Linked DNA regions of Homo sapiens: region 2 is linked to region 1. The links are contacts of gene promoters, found by promoter capture Hi-C in blood cells and fetal thymus (Javierre and others, 2016). All regions are on one chromosome and are shown on one strand. The core of a region is centred on a gene start or on the middle of the fragment in contact, and the rest is flanking DNA. Distances in the headings are between cores, read along the strand shown. Region 1 holds the start of RASL10A (RAS like family 10 member A). Region 2 overlaps THOC5 (THO complex subunit 5).

What was found. The method cuts DNA at HindIII sites, captures the fragments that hold promoters and counts their contacts. A CHiCAGO score of 5 or more calls a contact.
Region 2: a fragment that was not itself captured here is called in contact with the fragment with the promoter of RASL10A in region 1 in 1 of 17 cell types (naive B cells); the score reaches 5.3 in naive B cells.

Annotation. Positions count from the first base shown.
Region 1 is chr22:29,311,086-29,318,550 of GRCh38, reverse strand. RASL10A (RAS like family 10 member A) reads left to right here and starts at 2,854. Exons shown (of 3, transcript NM_006477.5): 1 at 2,854-3,523; 2 at 4,564-4,688; 3 at 4,983-5,618. The coding sequence starts at 3,305. The coding sequence ends at 5,250. It overlaps GAS2L1 (growth arrest specific 2 like 1), which reads right to left. Exons shown (of 6, transcript NM_001362985.3): 6 at 5,764-7,089. The coding sequence ends at 6,054. RefSeq lists enhancers at 2,858-3,662, 3,663-4,467, 7,410-7,465. The HindIII fragment of the contact is 16,106 bases long and covers 1-4,433 here.
Region 2 is chr22:29,524,465-29,531,316 of GRCh38, reverse strand. It overlaps THOC5 (THO complex subunit 5), which reads left to right. Exons shown (of 20, transcript NM_003678.5): 9 at 2,078-2,155; 10 at 2,851-2,891; 11 at 3,140-3,239; 12 at 5,371-5,479. Among named protein-coding and RNA genes, the nearest start is that of THOC5, 26 kb to the left of the region's middle. The HindIII fragment of the contact is 357 bases long and covers 1,905-2,261 here.

The sequences.
Region 1 (7,465 bases), core at 1,605-4,104:
TTTCAGCCCCTGTGGATGGGGGGCTCCACGGGACCTAGAGGCCTCCCCAAGTCCCTCCCGACAGGGGGCTGAGTGGTCACTGGGGGCTGAGCTTCAGTTGAGTACTTCCTGAGAACCCTCTGGGTCCAGATGAAGCCAGGCTTCTCAGCCAGGCTCTGGAGCCCAAGGGCCTGGGTTCCGGCCCCTGTGCTGCCATTTTCCTGCTAGGCAACTGTGGCCCAATCATGGCGTCCCAGGGAGCCTTAGTGAGCATGAGGCTGTGGGTCAGGCTTGGCACATCGCAGGCCCTTGATAAATGGGCACTGCTGCTAGGAACGCTGCTGTGAGAGTCTCCTAGGGAACATGGCACGTTTGCAGGGCTTCATGGGAGCCTCAGGACGTTCCCAGTCCACAGTGCCCCTTCCCCTCGCCATCCAAAAACACATACTGGGAGCCAGAGACGCCTCACACACAGCTCTGTTTGCAGTGTCGGAAGGAGAAGCAAGGAAAGTTTTTCAGAGAAAGAATACCCAGGGGTGGGCGGGAGTGCGCCTAGCATTGAGAACACCTTAAAAAAGACCGTCCTGGCCGGGCGCAGTGGCTCATGCCTGAAACCCCAGCACTTTGGGAGGCTGAGGCGGGTGGATCACCTGAGGTCAGCAGTTCGAGACCAGCCTGACCAATATGGTGAAACCCCGTCTCTACTAAAAAACACAAAAATTAGCCGGGCATGGTGGCATGTGCCTGTAGTCCCAGCTACTCTAGAGGCTGAGACAGGAGAATTGCTTGAACCCAGGAGGTGGAGGTTGCAGTGAGCCAAGATCGCACCACTGCACTCCAGCCTGGGTGACAGACCGAGACTCCATCTCAAAACAAACAAACAAAAGACCGTCCTGGTGTCAGCTTTTCAGACTTCTGGGTTTTGTTGTTGTGTTGCTGAGTGCCTTGTTATTTACTCCTTGCCTTGTTCCCCGAAGGAATTGAAGCAGCTCACAAAACCCAGAAGCCTGAAAAGTCAAAAACCCAGAAGTTTGGCCAGATGTGGTGGCTCACGCCTGTAATCCTCGCACTTTTGGAGGCTGAGGAGGGAGGATTGCTTAAGCCAGGAGTTCAAGACCAGCCTGGGCAACATAGTGAGATTCCACCTCTACAAAAAATAAAAATAAATCAGCTGGATGTCGTAGTACACACCTGCAGTCCCAGCTATTTGAGAGACTGAGGCAAGGAGGATCACTTGAACCCAGGAGGTTGAGGATGCAGTGAGCTAAGATCACACCACTGCACTCCAGCTTGGGTGACAGAGCAAGACCTTGTCTCAAACAACAAAACCCAGAAGTCTGAAAAGTTACAACGTGAAAGAGGACATCAAGTGAAGGGAAAAATCATGGTAGGAAAGAAAGATGAAGCCAGCAGTCCCCACTCACTGAGCTAGAAGACCTGGAACACTAGACAGAGGTGGTTCTGAGCTTCCTAGTGGCTGAGGAGAGGAGTGAAAGCGGACCCCAGCCCCCGATCTAGCATGGGAGGATGAAAGCACAGCCATTGTTCTGGAGACACTTTCTGGTTGTCATTATACAGGCTCCCTGGAGGATGTGCCTCCTCCCCCTTCAGGATTTAGCTCCTCTACTTCCCCTGGGCTGGTGTGGGCACATTGTCTGTGCTTTGACAGTCCCTAGATCCCATGTGTTCTAGAACCTTCTCTCCCAAAGCAGAACTTTTTTTTTTTTTCCTGTTTTCTGTTTTTTAAATCTATCTCAGCCTCCTGACAAGCAATAAGATTTGGAATATTTGTTGAGGGGATAAATAAATGAACTCCTTAGTCAGTGCAGAGATCTGTGCATTGCGGCCATTTCTTGAGCATTGCCGCCATTTCTTGAGCATTGCCATGTGCAGGTCAGAGACGTGGGAGCCCCCACACAGCGGGGAGGAGAGCAGAGGCGGAGGATGGGGGGGCTGGGCTAACCCAGGCTTTCCAAGCTGTGATGGGGCAGGAGCTTCTCCACTAGCTCGAGGGAGGGGGAACTTGGGCTCTGGGCGCCTGTTTTGGAGGTTGCATCCCTTTGAGGGGCGCTACGGGTTGCAACTCACGCAGGAAAGGTGACCTTAGTAGTGATGGAGGTGGAGTGGGCCAATTTCTGGATCTTTATTTAGTCACCTCCAGCCTTGCTGGGACAGGGATCTGGGGCTAAGCTGCTGTGGTCTCGGCACCCTCTGTCCCCACTTCCCCTCGAGGACGGCTGTTTGAATATTGTCTAGTGTGGGCCATTTACCCCCGTGGGCAGGAGGAAGGTAGGAGGGACTTCAAAGGAGACTTCAAGGGCCCCCCCACTGCCCTTCTAACCTTGCAGATTCCCCTCTCGGGCCTGTTTCCTCTTCTCTCAACCAGCGATGCCAGGCTGAGGCTGTAGGTTCGAGAATCACGTAGGTAATGGGCCTGGCACATAGTAGGCTCTCAAGAAAAGGTTGGAGCCTCTTGAGGAGTCTGCCTGTGATGGATGCGGAGCGCAGACCCAGCGCAGTGCGGCGATTCGCCCAAGGTCACACAGCCGCCCCCCCCAATTCGGACCCCGGGCGGCCTGACTCCGGGGGCCGGGGCTTGTCGGGAGCCAGCGTGGGGGCGAGCAGTGTTTGGAAGAGCGGCCGCGGCAGTGGGTGGGAAGGGGCTTCTATTTTGGAGCGGGTGAGAGGAGCGGGACACGCGGAGGAGGTAAGGAAGGGGTAGGCCCTCTCCGGGATCTCTGTCCCCCAGTCACCTTCCTGCGACCCTTCCTGGGAGGGGCGTCCTGGGCGGTGGGGGAAGGTGGGAGGGGCGGGCGGTTACCTCATCGCCGCCTCCGGGAGGCCCCGCTCGCTCGCGCCGGCGGCTGGGGCGGCGACTCCAGGCGCGGAAGCGAGAGAAGGATAGAGGCACAGAGGCTCCGGGAGGCAGCGCTGCCCCCCGCGCCCCGCACCGCTGCGGGACCCGCGCCGCGAGAGGGGCGGACTTCGGCGCCTCGCGCGTCCGCCGGCGCCTGGGTTGGCGCTGCGGGGCGGAGGCGGTGTCTGAGCGCCGCTCCGGCTCTGCTCTCTCTCGAGCTTCGGCACCCGCCCGAGCCGCTCGCGCGCCCGCCACCTGTCTGCCCACTCGGCTGTCTGTCTGCCCTCCCGCCGCCAGCTCCTGCCTCGGGCCTGCCCTCTCCGGTCTCGGTGCTCCGAGGGGCGACGAGAAGCGCGACGGGGCCGTGGCGCACCGGGCAGGGCGCGCGGGGCGCACGGCCTGGGGGCGCACGGTGCGGCGCCGGCCCATGAGGCTTTCCAGCGCGGGGAGCGACAGCGCCGGCCGGCCATGGGGGGTAGCCTGCGGGTGGCCGTTCTAGGCGCCCCGGGCGTGGGCAAGACGGCCATCATCCGCCAGTTCCTGTTCGGTGACTACCCCGAGCGCCACCGGCCCACGGACGGGCCGCGCCTCTACCGACCCGCGGTGCTGCTCGACGGCGCCGTCTACGACTTGAGCATCCGCGACGGCGACGTCGCTGGCCCCGGCTCGAGCCCCGGGGGTCCGGAGGTAGCGGCTCGAGGAGCGGGCAGGGGCGTGTGACAGTGTGAGGGGTGTGCGTGCTCGGTGCACACGTGCGTGTCCGCGTGGAGGCCTCGGGCGCCTGGCTGTGCTCCGGGATGGAGGGATGTGTGTGCGTCCTGGGATACTTGCGTTTCAGCCCTTCCCGCCGACCTGGAGACGCCCAAGCCCAGGCTGGAGGCCGGGCGATTTTGCCCAGGGGCGTTCCCTTGCTCCTGTGAGCGCCTCCACCTTTGCCTGCCTCGGCTGGGGGTGTGGAGCAGCTCTTGGTGGTGCATAACGGTGCCTTCCCGAGAGTGTGGCGTTTTGTGTTTGGGGCCTTGAGCAGAGCTACAATGGGAGAGACTGGGGTCAGGAGCAGGGGTGTACTTTCTACGGGGGCTGGTGGAGGGGTTCATTCTCTGCCCTATCATTTTTGTCCCCTGGAGCGAAGACTCGTTTAGTAATTTGTGCAAAGTAAAGGACAGACCTCCGACCCTAGAGCAGTGAAGAGGAAAGAGCAGGCAGGATTAAGCAGGGCTTCCTGGAGGGAGTGGCATTTGAGCTGAACCTGGAAGACCGAGTGAAGTTCTGAGTAAAGGAAGTGGCAAAAACATACCAGGTGGAAAGACCAGCAGGTGCTTACGCTACGGTCATAAACGGTTACAGCTGACAATCTGGGGGCGTGGTGGACCACGGGACTCGGGCCAAGGGCTTTGGAATTAGTCTTAGAGGCCGTGGTAAGCACCGAGAGCATCTAGGGAGGAGAGCGGCCTGAGCCGAGTTGGGGAAAGCTGAAAAGAGGAAGATTCGGGGTAAACAGAGGGGAGACCAAGGATGAAGGAGGCTGGCTGACAGGCTCCAGGCACGATTTGGAAAATTTTACCCTGGTGGTCATGAGGAGACGGCCCGGAAAGCTTGGGGGAGGGGCACAGAGGTCTGTATGGGGGTGATGTTGGCCTGAGGATTAGCGTCCAGGCCCCTGCAGAGGGTTCGAGAGCGGAAGAGTGGAAAGGAGGCTTCCGCAAACCCTGGCCTCCTGTCCCCAGGAGTGGCCAGACGCTAAGGACTGGAGCTTGCAGGACACGGACGCCTTCGTGCTCGTCTACGACATCTGCAGCCCGGACAGTTTCGACTACGTGAAGGCCCTGCGGCAGCGCATCGCGGAGACCAGGTAGGGGCCCGGCAGTTCTGGCGGTGGGGAGCTAGGACAGGTCTGGCAGGGCCTTTGCCTGAGGAGAGTGTGTAGGGTCTCCCAACGTCGTGGGCCGGGTCTTAGGCCTTCGCCCGTGGGAAGGTCTTAAGCTGTATGTGCTCTTTGGCCCACATGGGCCTGGGGTTTCGTTGGGGCGGCGGGGGGGGCGGTGTCTCTGGCCGTAGGAAGGGAATGCGCCTGCGTGTGTATACCCACTGGGGGAATTCTCCGGCCGTGGGGTCCCCGCGTCTCTCATCTCCATTCGGCCCCCAGGCCGGCGGGCGCGCCCGAAGCGCCCATCCTCGTGGTAGGCAACAAGCGGGACAGGCAGCGGCTGCGCTTCGGACCGCGGCGCGCGCTGGCCGCCCTAGTGCGCAGGGGCTGGCGCTGCGGCTACCTCGAGTGCTCCGCCAAGTACAACTGGCACGTGCTGCGTCTCTTCCGCGAGCTGCTGCGCTGCGCTCTGGTGCGCGCGCGCCCTGCACACCCGGCCCTGCGCCTGCAGGGGGCGCTGCATCCCGCGCGCTGCAGCCTCATGTGACCCGATCGGACAGTGCCATCCATGGGCCCCACCTTGTGACTGGGACAATCAGGGACCTGGATTGGACGGGATCGCCCAACTTCACTGGGACTGGACAGGGAAGTCTCCGCCCTGATTGGATGAGGAAAGCTCCAACCCAGTCTCCTAAGCGACTGGCCCCCTTTTGAACCTCATTGGACCCAACCAGGTCCCAAGCTCCATTGGAGATGACCAGTCCTTTCTGGGACCTCAATGGGTCACAATCCCATTGGATGGAAAGGACTTGGCTATGAACTTGACTGGAAACACGCAGCCTGCTCCTGGAGCTTCACTGGACATATTCTTTATGCCACACCTACCACGGGATAATAAAAGGGAAAATAATTTGAGTGCGCCTGGGATTTCTGGGCTGGGCGGGATAACGCCTTAAGCCTAGAGGTCAGAGTTGCCAGGCTTGGCCTCCAGGCAGTTAACTCCAGGGTCCTCGAAAGGGTCTGAATGGCCCCAAGGTGGAGTCCCCAAGAAACAGACAGGTGGCTGGAGCAAAACTTTACTGTCAGAGGCTCTGCTGGGCCACAGGTCTTCAGAACACCGGGCTCGCCCGGCCTCCTCTAAGGCATTCAATAATATTAGTAATTAAATAGCAACGCTCATCCCCCAACCGGAATGTACAACAGAGGTCCCATTGTGCCATGTGGTCCCAAGGGGTCTGGTCCCATGAGGTCTGGTACTCAAGAGGCAGAGGGGGCTCCCTGATGCAGAAGGGTTAAGGCCACAAAGGAAAAGGAGAAGGGATGGGGTCTGGGGACAGCTGAGCTGGTCCATCACATCCAGGAATCTGGCTCAGCCCTCGGGGTGACTGAGTGCAGGGCATGCCATGTCCCCAGCTCTGCGGGTCCGGAGGGGCGGCGGGGGCCCCGAGGCGTGGGGATACGTGAGGGTTTACGGTCTGGCTGTGTGTCCATCCGACCCCGTGCCCAGGTCCTCGAGGGTTCAGTGCAAGCCAGGGGGCTCCCAGGTGCATCTAGTGGCCCCCCCATGCCAGGGCAGGGGCTGCCTTCATCGGAGGAGCTGGAAAGGGCTTGGCTTCGGGGCCCAGGCAGCCCATTGGCCGTCCGGCCAGAGTCCCCAGGTTGGCCACATTTGCCACCCAGGACGCTGAGGGACGAAGAGGAGGAACTGGAGGAACAATAGGCAGAGTCAGGAGCTGGAGGGTCGGGGGCCCGAGCTGGGTCAGGGGCTGGTCCAGTGGGGGTCACGCTAGCAACAGCCTCAAGGGCCCGGGCATTGGCCAGGAACTCCTCTTCCAGGCGCCGGAACAGCTGCTGCTCCTGCTGCGGGTCGAGCTGCAGGGGTGTGCGGAAGATGCTGGCCGGTGTGGTGCCCAACTCTGGACTGGGGCTGGAGACCCGGGAAAGCCGGGGTGCTGCAGGGCTGCGGGCACGGGGAGTCTGGGGGGTGCTCCTGCCCGAGCCCCCACTGCCCCTGCCCCTTGGCACCCATGAGTGCTGCCCGTCTCGATCCCTGCGCACAAGCAGCACAGCCTGCTCCTCGCGGCTCTGGCTCCGGGCCCGCCGGGCAGGGCTGGGGACCGACAGCTGGGCTCCCCTGCCTCCTGGGGCCCCCCGGGGCCGGCCGCGATCCAGCCGGTCTCGGGACTGGCTGCGCAGGGCAGGAGGCCGTCTCGGAGAGGCCGGGGTGCCTGTGGTCAGCCGCCGGCTGGGTCGCTCCCTCCGGGGGCCAGTGCCTGTGTCATCACTGCGGGTACCAAGGGGGCCGCTCTGGGCGGAGGAGGCTGAGGAGTCACTGTCCCCGGAGTAGCGGCGGGAGCGGGGATGGGGGGGCAGCTGATCCCGGGGCCTGGGGCAGGGGGACAATAGAGACAGATGGGGTACCACGGAAGGACTGGCATGCAGAACAGGCAGGGAGAGGAACAGCAGGGTATGTGGCTGGTGGACGGGGCTGTCAGGGGCATCGGTCTGTCCTGGGGACTTCCAGGGAGAAGTGAGCAGCTTCCTCCAGCGGCCCAGGGCCCCAAAAGCCACGGAAGAAGAAGTTTCCTGGGCTCTAGACACCCCCCTTCCCAGGACGGGCCAGAGGAAGCAAGAGCTGGACTGGCTGCCGCCCAGCCACAGGGCCCGCCCCAGCTGTGTTGTTGGTTTGGTTGGGTTGCCATGGAGATGGGAAGCCAGGCCCGCCCCCACCCACGGGAACTTTTCCCAGGGTGTGAGTCACT
Region 2 (6,852 bases), core at 834-3,333, 210 kb before region 1:
CTCTGCCTTTTGCCCTAATGCAGCTTTCACCCAGCACCTACATTTTCTCCCCCACCCCACCCCACCTCATCAGACAGACATACACCGCACCAGTGCTTGCTTCTCCTCCCACCTTGGGCACCAACACATTACTGTCTCTTCTTGTGTCTTCCTCGTCCTTCTGGTCCTCCCCTCCCCTTTGTTCTCCCTCCTGTTTCCATCATCAGCTCATATGAAATCCTCCCAGCCCCCTAGACAGGGTGAGTAATTTTCTTTTCTTTTATGTTTAAAATCGGCCTGTTCCATTCTGATGTTCTTGTAGAATGCTAATATTAAATGGCTGAAAAAAATAGTCTGTTGTTTGCCAGTGCTTGATGGGAGCAACTAGTTGCTTGGGGTGAAGGGTGGTGATTCACATAGGGTTGCCATAGATAAGGCAGTGGTCAGCCACTTGGGGGAAGTTTGCCATCCCTCCTTAGTGTGGCTAGGCAAACCGTTTCAGGCTCTTGGGACCATATGTACCCTTAAGAATGGAGTTGGACGGTGGTGGCCTGTCTGACCTCACAACGCTAGACCCTCAGAGGGGGTCTCAAGACATCACTCAATGAGGTGTCATACCTGGTGTATGCAACAGGCTGTTAGCTCATGTGCTGGAGAGGCCAAGCTTAAGTTGAACAGACCTGGTCTTGAATCCTGGTTTATCAGCCTTATAGCTGTGATGTCTAGCTTCTCTGAGCCTTAAGTTTCTCATCTATAAATGGCTATAATGTATTACTCCTGTAGGGTTGTTGTGAGTATTAAAAAAAATTTTTTTTTTTGAGATGGAGTCTGGCTCTGTTGCCCAGGCTGGAGTGCAGTGGCATGATCTTGGCTCACTGCAACCTCTGCTTCCCAGGTTCAAGCAATTCTCCCTGCCTCAGCCTCCCAAGTAGCTGGGATTACAGGCACCCACCACCGTGCCTGGCTAATTTTTATATATTTAGTAGAGACAGAGTTTCACCATGTTGGCCAGGCTGGTCTCGAACTCCTGATCTCAGGTGATCCACTCACCTTGGCCTCCCAACCAGACATGAGCCACCACACCCAGCCTAAAAATTAATTTTTAATAATTTTATAATTAAAATTACAAGCATCAGCTCATTCAGTCCCCACCACTAATGGGGCAGCTACTGTTTTTCTTTTTTCTTTTTTTTTTGAGACAGAGTCTCACTCTGTTGCCCAGGCTGCAGTGCAGTAGCATGATCTTGGTTCACAGTAACCTCCACCTCCTGGATTCAAGCAATTCTCCTGTCTCAGCCTCCCAAGTAGATGGGGTTACAGGCACATGCCACCACACACAGCTAATTTTTGTATTTTTAGTACAGACGGGATTTTGCCATGTTGGCCAGGCTGGTCTCTGAACTCCTGACCTCAGGTGATCCACCTGCCTCGGCCTCCCAAAGTGCTGAGATTACAGGTGTGAGCCACTGCACCCGGCAGCTACTATTTTTCAAGTCCCCTTTTCATAGATACAGAAACTGAGGCTCAGACAGTGACATAACTTTCCAGGTCATGTGTTTGAGAATTGGTTAGGCAGGGACTCAGGTCTGGAACTGGACTGCAAGATCCAAGTTCCTATTCACTGTCCTACTGCCTCCCAGTTAAGTGAGACAATGGCAGCCATGTGCTTGGTATAGTGTAGAATAGAGAATAAGCACTTAGGTGAGAGTCATTGTTTCTGGGATGTGGACAGGTGTGGATTTCTGGGTGAGAACCTCTAAGACAACTGGCAGAGGAGTTCCATGTGGCTTTAGGCCCTCAGTTTGAATTTCTGTGCTTTGGTGTGCACCAAAAAAGAGAGGCATTCACTGCTAGTTTCAGGTGATGCTGGTTTAGGAATTTGTACTTAAGTTCTCTGTTCTCAGTAAATGACGGAAAAAAAAGCTTAAGTGTCCCACCTTGTTTCCCTTCATCTGGAGCAAGGACTTTTGCCCTTCCACCCTTAGTCAGCAAGGAGCTGGGCAGAGGTGGGAGAAATGCAGCCCCAGAGCTGGCCTACTCACACTGCTTAGCAGCTTTCCTCAGCAGCTTTCCTAACAGACTTCTTCTTGCCCCCCAGATAAGACGTTATCTGTGGCAATCGAAGGCAGTGTGGATGAAGCCAAGGCTCTGTTCAAACCTCCAGAGGACTCCCAAGGTAATGTGGTGGTTGGGATTCGTCCCCCAGGGACACCAGGTCACCATCCAAGGGCAGTCCTGGTCTTTGGAGAACTAGCTGGACTAGTTCTGTGTAGCAGGAAGCTTGACTTGAATGTCTTAGCACCCTGGAGTAGACAGGAAAGAGAGCTCACTTCCCGGAGTCACAAGGTGCGGCCCGTGGATTTCAGCCCTGCCACTCACTAGCTGACTGACCCCGAGGAAGGTATTTAATATTTCAGAGCCTCAGTTTATTCCTTTGTGAAAACAGATAGTAACACCTCATGTAGGATTGTTATGTGGATTAAATAAGGTAATGCACATACAGCCTTTAGCATAATTCTCAGCACATAGTACCCCCTCAAGTTATGCATGCTTCTACTACTATTATTATTATTTGTGTTACTATTATTACCACAGCCACCACCACCATCACAAGGAGGGGCTTGTGTTCCATCTAAATGACATCAAAAAGCCCTTTGAAAAAAATGAGTTATACGTCATTCTTCTTTTTTCTTTTTTCATCACCATGTTTTGTATACTGAATAAGAAGCAGCAAGTTAATTTATTATTTATTACAGAGAAACTTATTTACAAAAGACAGAGTCAGGGCCCCTTTATGCCATGTGGGTTGGAGTGCTTTAGGGAGCATTTGGAGCCCCCTCACCTCTAGCTGCCTTCTCTCTGTGGCTGCAGATGACGAGAGTGACTCAGATGCCGAGGAGGAGCAGACTACGGTGAGAACCATTTCCTCTTGTGGGGGCATCAAGCAGCTGCATGCACTGGGGCATGCTTGTTCGCAGGTGCCGTCCTCCCTAGAAGCAGAAGAGGTGTGAAAGAAGGTGCTGCTGGGAGGGGAGTCTGACAACCCAGCTAGCTGAAGCAGCAGGTGCCAGGCAGTAGGGCTGAGGCCTGGCTGGTTGGGAGAGGGAAGGGGAGATTGCTATGACTGATGCTCATCAGCTTGGCACTTTCCTTTGTCCAGAAGCGCCGGAGACCCACACTGGGGGTTCAGTTGGACGACAAACGCAAGGAGATGCTGAAGAGGCACCCACTGTCTGTCATGCTCGACCTGAAGTGCAAAGGTCTGGTTGCACTCACCTTGTTTAAGGGATCTGTAGCACCTAAGAGTTCACCCAGCTGCAGGTGCAGAGGGTCCGGGAGCCAAACACCCATTTGCCCAACAAAGGATTCCCATTTCATATTGCTTTGTTTTTCCTTATTGTTTTGCATGGACTTTGTTTCTTTTTGTTAAATCATAACCGTAACAACATAGCAACAAAACTCCAGTCACATAAGGCAGAAGCTTGAGAAAACTATACCTCTTTCTGAATCTAGCAAGTCAAATATCTAGAACAAGTTGCAAAAGTATACAGGTTTTTAGTAAGACCAACATGTTTAATAAATGTAAGTAGAACTTTGTATTCTGCAGAGTATATGTTTTGAAGTTGGTTTGTATGAAAAAGTACCATATAATAAAATGTTCTAGCAGTAGAAGAGCTAACAGTAAAATTTAAGTTTCCCTCTCACCACAGGTTCCTATATACCAGTCCTAGGTCTCACCTCCAAGGGCAACCATTATTACAGACTTCTTATGTATTTTTTAGAAAGATTCTTTGCACCTGGAAGCTTTTATACAAATGTATATTTATCTGCTTCCCACTTTATTTTTTACACAAATGGAAATAGGCTCTACGCACTGGTTTTCTTTTTGCTGGTTGTTTGTTTGTTTGTTTGTTTTTAGAGATAGGGTCTCACTCTCGTCATCCAGGCTGGAGTACAGTGGCATGATCACGGCTCACTGCAACTTCAACCTCCTGGGCTCAATCGATCTTCCCACATCAGCCTCCCAAGTAGCGGGGGCTACAGGCATGTGCCATCATGCCAGTTAATTTTTGTATTTTTTGTAGAGATGGGGTTTTGTCATGTTGCCCAGGCTGGTCTTGAACCCCTGGGCTCAAACGATCCTCCTGCCTCAGCCTCCTAAGTAGCTAGGACTGGAAGCGTGCACCACCATGGCTGGCTTTGAGATAATTTTAGGCTCATAGAAGACTTGCCAAAATAACATGAGTTCCTATATACTCTTCATTCAGCTTCCCTAAAGTTACATCTTAATTAAAGATGGTATGATTAACAGCGATCCACACCACTCTTAATTTCATTGGCCCAATACTGTTAACAAAATGACAGAATTTTTTTAGTTTCTTCCTTTTTTAATTAATGTCCTTTTTCTGTCCCAAGATCCAAGCCAGGGTCTCAAAGTGCATTTAGTTGCCATGCTCCTTAGTCTGCTCTAGGCAGTGAGTGTCTCAGTCTTTCCTTGTGTTTCATGACCTTGATTAGACTGAGATTATGGATTTGGGGGAGAGAATAGCATAGATGAGGTCGTCGCTATCATGTCATATCAGGAGTACCTGATGCCACTGTATTATTTCTGCTGATATTGACCTTGATCGCTTGGTTCCCTTTCCATCTTGTATTTGTTAGAAGCAGAGTCACTAAGTCCAGCCCACTCTCAAGGGCAGAGAAATTAAGCCCTACCTCTTGGTGGGAAGCGTAGCAAAGAATTTGTAGATGCTCTCCTTGCTTCTTTTTGTTCATTATATTACTGTTGTGATTTTTTTTTTTCTTGAGACAGAGTCTCGCTCTGTTGCCCAGGCTGGAGTGCAGTGGCGTGATCTCTGCTCACTGCAAGCTCCACCTCCTGGGTTCACACCATTCTCCTGCCTCAGCCTCCCAAGTAGCTGGGACTACAGGTGCCCGCCACCACGCCCGACTGATTTTTTGTATTTTTAGTAGAGACGGGGTTTCACTGTGTTAGCCAGGATGGTCTCGATCTCCTGACTTCATGATCTGCCCACCTTGGCCTCCCAGAGTGCTGGGATTACAGGTGTGAGCCACCGCGCCTGGCCGATTTTGTTTTTATAGTAAATGATTGTAAAAGTCTCTGAATTTTTCTATAATTCTGTTTTTCTTTTTTTGTTATAATTTCAACTTTTATTTTCGATTCTGGGGATACATGTGCCGATTTGTTACACTATTTTGCGTGGTCCTGAGGTTTGGGGTATGAATGATCCCGTCACCTAGGTAGTGGGCATAATACCTAGTAGTTAGTTTTTCAACACTTGACCCCCCCACCTTACTACCCCCTATGACTCTGTTCACTCTGCTCTGAGTGTTTTGACTCATAAATTCTCTCATCTTCCTCCCCTCCAGATGACAGTGTGCTTCACCTGACTTTCTACTACCTCATGAACCTCAACATCATGACAGTAAAAGCCAAAGTGACAACTGCCATGGAGCTGATCACCCCCATCAGTGCAGGGTATTGAGCAGGCGCTCTGGGCAATGACGTGCGGGATGGGGAGGTGATGAGAGCCTCATTGTGGGGCTGCTCTCGGTTCCTCCCTCTGGCTCTGGAGAGGGCTACGGCTGTGTTGACTTGTCTTGTATCCAGATGGACCAGAAGTCCTGGCACATCGCTGGTATTTAGAAAGCACTCTCTGACTTTAATTTGTGAAGTCCTCTTACTACACAGCAGATGATAAAAGTGACAACAGCATATTTGCAAATTGAGTAGGTGGGGCAGAGCACCAGCTTTTTGCTACCAGTGGAAAGTGTGTGAATATAAAATGAGATTTGGCAGACATTATTAGGTTGCCAAATTCAGGCCACTCTTTCCCTTTTCTCTTTCTATCCCAAGGTGCTGGGATTTTTGCTCCCCAGCTCAGCCCAAGCCCATGTCCTTATCTGGGTGGTGGGAGGACTGTGGTGGGTCCCTGTGAAAGTTTTGAGAAGAGTGAGCAGAGGCACAGTAATGACAGCCATCATCGCATCCCCAGGAAGGCCCTGACTACAGTGTTCTTTTTTTAATTTCTATTTTTGTTGATACACAGTCTCACTATGTTGCCCAGACTGGAGGACCATGGCATAATCATAGCTCACTGTGGCCTCAAACTTCTGGGCTGTAGTGATCCTCCTACCTCAGCCTCCTGAGTAACTAGGACTACAGGTGCATGCCACCATGCCTGGCTGACTTTCTATTTTTATTTTATAGAAACGGGGTCTTGCTGTGTTGCCCAGGGTGGTCTTGAACTCCTGGCCTCAAGCACTCCTCCCGTCTCTGCCTCTCACAGTGCTGGAATTCCAGGCATGAGTCACCATACCTGGCCCAATCATGGCATTCTTCTTCTGCAAACATGGGCGGGAAGAAGGGTCATGCGGGGCTGAGGGTGAAATAGCTTCCATTCACAAGAGCACTGCCCTGACCTAGTCCCACTGTCAGCTGCAGAAAGACCACTGAGGCTTAGGGAGGTACAGCTCTGGTGCCTGGTAGAGCAGGGCTCTTTCCACCCCTGCCAGTTCTCCATGATGCTGGTGTCTCTTGGGTTTTAGACTGCCCTTAGAGTCCACATCCCCTTCAGGCCATAGCAGCTTTGGCTGCTGTGCCTGAGAGTGTTGTTGGACACCCCCAGGGGTGCTCTGGATGAAATTGCCCCTGTTCCCATCTGACCCCAGCAGAGGGAGCCCAGGGCTTGCTTCTGAGCACCCAGTTACACTGTCCAGGGCTCTCAGTTCATTGAGGAGTTCCAGGGCCCCCAGATCGTGGTAGAGCTCATCATGAACATTCTGCTTGTTCATTTCTCAGGTGCCCTACATGCTAATAACAGGGCTGCAGCCTGGCTTTATTGCATGCTC